Regions from separate parts of the Homo sapiens genome. Here region 2 is linked to region 1. Evidence: promoter capture Hi-C in human tissues and cell types (Jung and others, 2019). All regions are on one chromosome and are shown on one strand. Each heading gives the region's core, a stretch centred on a gene start or on the middle of the fragment in contact. The rest is flanking DNA. Distances are from core to core; before and after follow the strand shown. Region 1 holds the start of ADH1B (alcohol dehydrogenase 1B (class I), beta polypeptide). Region 2 holds the start of ADH5 (alcohol dehydrogenase 5 (class III), chi polypeptide).

Region 1 (4,307 bases), core at 729-3,228:
CTCCACTACTTCTGTGTGCTACTTGTTTCCTACTCATTTGAAACTTAGCTTTGGCAGCCTGTTTTGTAATCTAATTTATGTGTAGAGACTTCTTTCAGCTTAGATTTGAGCCAAATATTATAGAGATTAGAGTTGGTGGTGTGTGTGTGTGCACGTGTGTGTGTGTGTATACACTCAGACCCACGCATGTATATTTTAAAACTGGAGAAACAGTGTGCTTGGATTTCTGTTTAGCAGAGCTTATCCATAGATGTTCTTAAAAATAAAGTTCAGCATATATTTCTAGTGCTTGGCAGTGTACTGTAAAACCCATCTTCGTTGTGGTAAAGCATGTATAATTCGCAGAGCCCTTTCTAGAAAGAACCAACATAATTGCAAATATAATTTAAAAATTCAATTGAGATTTATTTTTCTGCCAATTCATTTTCATTATTTATTTGTCAAAATTTTCAACTTTGTAGGATGTTCAACATGGTCAATGCCAAAATAAATACCAGAATACTTAGACAGAAGGTACTAATAGTAGGAAGATTCTTATTATGAGGTGCTTATGATGTGACAGGCACATTGTGACCTGTGCTGGGTAAATTACATGCATTATTTTTATCTTAAAATTTATTCATTGATTAATTTTTAATTTCAATAGTTTTTGGGGTGCAGATGGTTTTTGGTTACACGGATAAGTTCTTTAGTGGTGATTTCTGATATTTTGGTGCACCCCTCACACAAGCAGTGTAGACTGAACCCAATATGTAGTCTTTTATGTCTTATTCCTCCTACTGCCCTTTTCCCTCAGTCCCCAAAGTCCATTATATCATTCTCATCCTTTGTGTCCTCATAGTTTAGCTACCACTTTTAAGTGAGAACATTGGATATTTGGTGTTCCATTCATGAGTTACTTTACTTAGAATAACGTCCTCTAGCTCCATCAACCAGTCTTATTGATATGAGCCTGTTTGTCACACAATGCAGAGAGAAGCCTCAGAACCTTTAAATTGAATTATCATAGTGAGATATTTTACAGTGTGGTACACTCCTAACACAAAAAAAGGACTGGACATAGTTGCACAGGTTTATGTAATTAAACAATTAAAAAAATCAATTGATTATATTGAATGACCACATGCACCTGTAAACACATTGAGCAAATAAGTACAAATTTATAGAAGAAAAAACCAAATATCTGTATTCCTAGTGCTAAGTGATTCAAATTGTATTATTATTCAAATTGTATCATTGATTTTCTGTAAAACCATATTAACTTTTAAATGGGGAAGATACTGTTCCATAGGATTTTTGTGGAAATTCCCTGAATTGTATCATAATGGACCCCTTTTAATCAGAATTTGCATGTTGATGTCTTGCTTAACCTTGATGATTCTAATGCTGTGAAATCAATGAGTATTTTGTAAGATATTTTATAGTAAGGTTAAAGGATATTTCAGTCTTCTGAGTCAAATTCCTCTCATCAAACTTCTGTCAGACAACTTTCCTGTGTTCATAAAAAATTTGAATAAAAATAATAACACATTTGAATTATGGTTTCTTATTATAAAGATAACTTGCCATTAAAGACTTTTCTAACTTTAGATTTACAAATCAGTCATGATTAGCTTGGAATAAACTATCATTTTACTGTAAATTTATTTAATGTAGGAAATAAAGACTAATAGACACAGGTTCTATACATTCCTGTTAAAGGTACTTAAGAATAGCTTATTTCCACTGCAGTTCAGTATACATTACATATTGAGGTGTATATTGCATATCATATTTCAGCATATCATTTCTAATTTAGATATGAATTTTAAATTATTCATCAAATACTGTATTCCTTTCTTTGTTATATTGATGAGAATATATTACCAACAGTAATATATTTTTTGCTTACTTTTCCTGCTGTGCTCATGTCGTTTCTGTCTTCTCTGCCCACCAGCAGACTGTGAGTCTTTGTGGATTTCTTCTCTGCTTGAGTGCATAAAGCAGATATATTGCACAGATATTTATTTTGTTTGCTTGTGTAACATCCAATTCCAATTCCACACGTGATCTATGTCTTTAAGCCACACCCACTGGATTATTCCCAGACTGTCAAAACAGATAAAAGGGTACTGAACCAGCAATCAAAATATTGACTTCCAAATTCTAGATAAGATTTTGTTTTCATTAGTTTAAATATTAAGTTAAAGTGATAAATTGTAATCACTTTCTCTTTTCCTCACTTCCCACCCCCCCCCGGCCTCTGGAATTCCTTGTTTCTCTTCTTTCAATCCCACATAGGTCGTTCTGCCTTGTATTCCCTTTGTCTGCACTAAGCTGCAACTTTGAATGCACATGGGGTGGCGAGGAAGGAAGAAGAGTAAGAAAACAGGAAAAACGAAGTAGGATAGAGAGAGCAGCCTCTTTGTCTTTACAGCAGAGAATCAGACACCCAATTAGTCACAGCAAAGGGGATCACTGTGCCTGGCAATTCTGCTCCACTCAAAACTAGTATGTATGGACTGAACACCTCCCTGTGTCAGGCACTAAGCTGGGTCCAGTGGAGTAGCAGTGATGAATAAGACATGACCTCTGCCTGTGCCAAGAGGCAGTATGGGGCAGCGGTGATGGCATGGCTTGTGGGACCAGGCCAACCCAGTTCCTTACTTGTTCTGTGTACTTGGACTTATTATTTCACTGAATTTTTTTTGCCTTAATTTCCTTATCTGTGAGATGAAGATGAATAATGGCGTCATTTTAAAGGACTGTTTGTGAATAAATGAAATAATCCTTGTAAAGCACTCATCATGGAGTTTTGCAGATAGGAGCACCCTCCTAAATGTTAGCTACAATTATTATTCATGAAAGAAAGCTCACAGTTTATAGTGAAAAGACACGCAGGAAACCAAGTCTACATATCAGCCTGGCTGGGAAGTGCCCTATCACAGGGGTCAGTTAATGCTTTGGGAACAGAGACAGAGTTGCTATTCAGAATGAAGGACTCAGGGGAGGCATTGTAGAGGAACAGGCATTTGTGGCAGATTTTAAATAATTGTGAGAAATGGAGCAAAATCCTCACTGGATCATTTCCATTACCCTTTGATCAATGTAGCTAGTATCCTCATGGCTTTCCAAGCATAGGAGTTTGATTTTTCTTTTATCCACACTTGGAGGCGTCATAAAACTATACAGGCAACTATTTAATTAGATATAGTCTGTCAATATGAACATGTTAGCATAGAGGACATATTTCTCTAAAATTGCCAAGGGAACATTTCAGTAAGCTTTAATTATGTAGGCACTGAGACTCACACCAAGACTGAGAAACATTCACCCAATAGAAAGCAAAGGAGGTCCTATGATTTTAGTTGCTTCTAGTTTGGAAAGGTATGACGGAAAGAAGATAGCCCCAGATAACCTGGCTTTAGCCTTCTCATCCAACTATTCCTCACCATTCTCCAATACAGGGCCTATGCTCTTTAGAAGCATGTATCTCTGTGGTCCTCCAAAGAGGAATCCATTCCTCATTCAAGCTCTTGCTCATCATGCTTTTTCTCTTCTTTTCTGTCCCTCTGGCCCATTCAAATCCTCCCCAAACTTTGAGATCTAGGACAAGGTCGCCCTTGTGGAGATATGTTAACGCCATCTCACAGTCATGCTTCACTTCTTTCCATCCCTGTCATACTAGCATCCCTCCTGTGGTTTTAGGGCCCATTCTCTTTTGTGGCCTTTATATTTAGTGTAGAGATCAGTCTCCTAAGTTCTACTGGAAATTTCTGGTCAGAGATGTTCTTGAATTTCATTTAAATCTTCAACTGTACCTAGTTTCATGTGTACAATAGGTGTTTAATGAAAGATTGTTGAATTCTTGTGCTCCTTTATGTTAGGACACGCACTGTTCTATGAGCAGTCCCATAATCCAGAAGATCTGGTGTCTCCTCTTTAAGGGATTACAGATTAGCAGTGGGATTGGCTGTGGTCAGGTAGAGAAGACAGAGAACCCTCCTGTGAAGCAGGAAGTGGTGAGTGCCAGGAGAAAGTTCAACGTGGAATCAAAAGAGGAAGACCCTACTCCGTCTTTTCATTGTGAATTCTCAGCTCTTAACTCAATGAGTGGCACAGGGTGAGTGCTCAGATATTTGTTGACTAAATTAAATGAATGACATCTAATTTGAGAATGAGGAAGCCTTGAAAGAAAGATATTTTATTAAGATTTATTAAGAAAGATGAGTTGCAGTTGAGAGGTATAGATGCAGTCAGCATATGGACAAAGAATCTTGAAAACATTTTTCTCCCCTAATACCCCCTTTTATACATTTTTCTGTTTA
Region 2 (4,307 bases), core at 1,808-4,307, 230 kb before region 1:
AACCCTCTCTGGGGTCAGAATAAGGACCCCTTTCTGGTAACATTTCTTCTTTTGTTTCTAACGTGTCAGCATATATTTAAAGTTATCTAATCAGCAGAAAAATGAGTATCCTACAGAGTTACCTTAAACCTAAACTGCAGAAGATAAATTGCAATAATCCAGTGACCCATGGGGATAGCTGCTCAGCCCAAGATCAAAACTAAAAGAGATGGAGAAGCATGCTGCAAAGGTGAAAGATAAGAGAAGGATGTTGTGATTGTAAGGCTGGATGACTTTCAACACCTTTTCTTTGACACTGTCCTTTGGGATTTATCCTCTGCAGATCTCAGATCTACTCATCTATCCAGAGACCTCATTGTGTCTCTTTTTTTCCCAGTGCCTTAAATGTATCATTACCTTGATTCGAACTTCATGAGCCTTTGGGGGTGCCACCTCTATCTCCTCTATGGAGAGAGGCTTTCCAGCCTCCCAAGCAACTGCAGCCTTGCACTTGATAACCTGAAGTGGGGAAAAAAGGGAATAAGCTGTTTATCCTCCTAAACAAGTAACTACTTAATAGCCAATTTAGATACAGATTAATGCTAATCTTAAAAAGTATATCACAGATTCACAAAGAAACATATGCTTCCAAGTGATATGTTTTTAGATTTCACACAAATAGTATACATCAAAAATGATTTAATTGAGATGATTACCTGGTCAGATAGAAAAGTATCTTTTGGTTAAAAAGTTGTACTCATCAAATATTTAATGGCCTTCTACAGTGCATATGCAAAAGCAGGTTAAGAACACAAGTTCCGAGAGAATCTGATTCAGCAGGTCTGGCATGGGGTCCAAGAAATCTGCATGCTTAACATATGCCTGAAGAAATTCTTTTGCTCAGGCTGTTCTGAATACCACCGGCTTGGTGCAAAACTGCAGGGTGGGAAGGAGGATTAGGAGTGTAACAGTGAGGAGCTATATCCCTTGTAACTGCACCGGCCAATACAGCAGCCACTTGCCAAATATGACTACTGAGCTCTTAGAAAATGACCACTGGCCGGGCTTGGCTGCTCACGCCTGTAATCCCAGCACTTTGGGAGGACAAGGTGGGCAGATCATGAAGTCAGGAGTTCAAGACCAACCTGGCCAGCATGGTGAAACCTCATCTCTACAAAAATACAAAAATTAGCTGGGCATGGTGGTGCGCATCTGTGTGGTCCCAGCTACTCAGGAGGCTGAGGCAGGAGAATGGCTTGAACCCGGGAGGTGGAGGTTGCAGTGAGCCGAGATTGTGCCACTGCACTCCAGCCTGGGCAACAGAGCGAGACATCGTCTCAAAACAAACAAACAAACAAACAAAACTGAGATATGCTATAAATATAGCTGGACTTTGAAGACTTAGTTCAAAGAAAAGTAAAAATATCTCATCAACAGTATTTTTAAAAATACTGCTTACATGTTGAAATGGTAGTTTATTTATAACAACATTATAAATAATGTAATTTAACATAATTAAAATATTAAAACTTCACTTTTTCCTTTTTAATGAGGCTACTGAAAATTTAAAATTACACGTGACTAATTATAGCACACAGACCTGCTTTAGAGATTATAGTCATGTATACCCTCCATTACAAGAGAATCACACGTAATGAGAAAGGTTCTAATTAGTTTACATTACACTTGAGAAATGTGTGGACAGACTAAAGGTTGTAAGCCACTGGGTTTACAGGAGACAGACTTTAAAGTTAATAATTACAAAGAGTGTGATTTAAAGAGACAGGCACAAAGTAATACAGAAAGCAAAAAAAGTAGGTTAAGAGTGTAACTTTGCTTGGTTTGGGAGAGCTTCACTTCTAACCAGGATACTGAAGGATGAGGAAAAGGTAATTATAAATGGTGGTAAAACACCTACATATAGGGTGATTGTGAGAACTGAATAAGAAAGAATATGAAGTCCCTGGCCGGGCGCGGTGGCTCAAGCCTGTAATCCCAGCACTTTGGGAGGCCGAGGCGGGCGGATCACGAGGTCAGGAGATCGAGACCATCCTGGCTAGGTGAAACCCCGTCTCTACTAAAAATACAAAAAATTAGCCAGGGGAGGTGGCAGTCGCCTGTAGTCACAGCTACCGGGGAGGCTGAGGCAGGAGAACGGCGTGAACCCAGGAGGCGGAGCTTGTAGTGAGCCGAGATCGCGCCACTGCACTCCAGCCTGGGTGACAGAGCAAGACTGCGTCTCAAAAAAAAAAAAAAAAAAAAAAAAAGAATATGAAGTCCCTAACACAATCCTTGGCACAGCATAGCTTTGCAAAATAAGTTAGTAGTTATTGGTAGCAACAGAACAAACGGTTGAGGGAAAGGAGAGGTGAACTACATAGAGATATAAAAAATGGCCTCTGTAGGCCGGGTGCAGGGGCTCACGCCTGTAATCCCAGCACTTTGGGAGGCCGAGATGGGCGGATCACCTGAGGTCAGGAGTTGGAGACCAGCCTGGCCACTATGGCGAAACCCCGTCTCTACTAAAAATACAAAAATACCGAGCATGGTGACGGGCGCCGGTAATCCCAGCTACTCGGGAGGCTGAGACAGGAGAATCGCTTGAACCCGGGAGGCAAAGGTTGCAGTGACCCAAGATCGCGCTATCGCACTCCAGCCTGGGAAACAAAGAGCGAAACTCCGTCTGAACTGGCGGGGGAGGGGGGGGGGAGGGAAATGGCCTCTGTAAATTGGTGAGGTTGGAAATGTGGAAATGATCGTTTTTAAAATTAAATTGCAGATATTAAATCTCATAGTACAAAGAATCAGACACTGCATTAGAACCTTTTTCATTTCAATGTGCCATAAATTTCAACTCCACAAGTCAGATTCAGAATACTAACAATTAAGTTATGCAACATAGGAATCCAAAGAAACAAGAATACTAAATTTGATGGCCTGCTCCCCTTTAAAAAATGTCTTAATGGAGCCTAACCTTTTCCTTTTACTGACAATTCTAAGCAAAACAAAGCCCCACTCTAAATCCGCGGGAAATGGCCCTACTTCAACATTTGAACTATAGTAACAATTATAATCTTTCACCTTCTCTGAATAAAGACACTCAGTAATAAGGAAAAGCAACTACCAGTTTAAGTCTGAAAGACTGTTTAGAGTTTATTTCTTTCAAACTCCAATATGTTTAAGGCCATTTGTCTTACTAGAAAATGTCCAAAATTGCAAAACATTAAAATAATCAGCAACTTTAGACTGAGTATGTTATTCGTAATTTCTGCCTTTCTTTACTGTCTAATTTGTATTTTATGAATTTGTCATAGAGGAGCAGACCTGGGTCGGAATCCCAGCTCGCCATCGTTGGTGTGACCAAGCACAACCAACCTCAAACCTCAGTTTTTGGTAAGATGGGGATAACACCTCGCAGAGGTGTTTGTTACGTGAGGACTAGAGGGAATATAAATCTCTTGGTATTTAAGTGCTCGAAAATGTTTCTGAAAGGGACGTAGGGGTCTTTCCAAAATACACTCCTTGGAGGCACAATAATTAAGGCGTAGGCTCAATTATGCAACACAAGCAACCTAGGAGTTAGAAGCACGGGATCTGGCTGCAGCTCTGCCAAGTATGCAAGCTGCAAGAATGACCCAGAGCGAGTTACTTAATTTCGTGTAAGAAGCAATGCGTGGCCGCTCCTAAGCCATTTCCACTGGGATACCGACCTGACCAGCCCCTGCCCCCCACTCTCCGGCTCTCCCACCCCCCCACCCCGTTCCGACTGTCCCAGAAGCAGCAAAGAAAGCTGCTTCCCAACTGAAGAGCCGAGACAAAGCTTCCTTCTCTTTCTGCCCCTCTGAGCCGCTCGCTGGGGGCCCAGTTTCAGAACCAAGAGCCAGATCCCGTCTTGGGCGCCGAGCCTCGCGCGCCCCCGAGGATAGCAGCCTAGTCCCATGCCATGCACTCCCTCCCTTGGACTCAGGGCCCTCCGCTCAACGGGCCCTACCTCGTTCGCCATGTTCACGGATTCTGGTCGGCGCGGGGGGCTGACATCCGGGGTGGGCCGCGCAGCGACGGAGGCATGGGCGTGGCGAGCGCCTAGCGAGGGGGGCGGGGCGTGGGGGGGGCTTGCAATGGCTCCAACCGGAAGGGCGGTGCTCGAGCTGTGGTGCGTGCCGCTAAGTTGTGCGTTCCAGGGTGCACTCGCCGGCGAGGCTGCACGGCGCCGGTTTCATTGCTAAAATCCGACGGACTTGTTGCAGAACTCGTTTTTTTTGTCGGGAAAGGGCTTCCCCGTGTAACTTTACAGCAGTTATCGTAGATAAGACTTGCAAATTACAGAT

What was found. Contacts are between HindIII fragments. The study calls those that stand out against the background at their distance.
Region 2: a contact is called between a fragment that was not itself captured here and the fragment with the promoter of ADH1B in region 1, in 1 of the 25 tissues and cell types used here (H1 embryonic stem cells).

What each region holds. Positions count from the first base shown.
Region 1 is chr4:99,319,423-99,323,729 of GRCh38, forward strand. It overlaps ADH1B (alcohol dehydrogenase 1B (class I), beta polypeptide), which reads right to left and starts at 1,979. Exons shown (of 9, transcript NM_000668.6): 1 at 1,892-1,979. The coding sequence starts at 1,909. RefSeq lists a promoter at 1,945-2,251 and an enhancer at 2,145-2,251. The HindIII fragment of the contact is 12,641 bases long and covers 1-4,307 here.
Region 2 is chr4:99,084,719-99,089,025 of GRCh38, forward strand. ADH5 (alcohol dehydrogenase 5 (class III), chi polypeptide) reads right to left here and starts at 4,070. Exons shown (of 9, transcript NM_000671.4): 1 at 3,971-4,070; 2 at 397-498. The coding sequence starts at 3,982. LOC100507053 (a long non-coding RNA gene) reads left to right here and starts at 4,139. Exons shown (of 10, transcript NR_037884.1): 1 at 4,139-4,307. RefSeq lists a promoter at 4,015-4,307 and a silencer at 4,053-4,102. The HindIII fragment of the contact is 9,272 bases long and covers 1-4,307 here.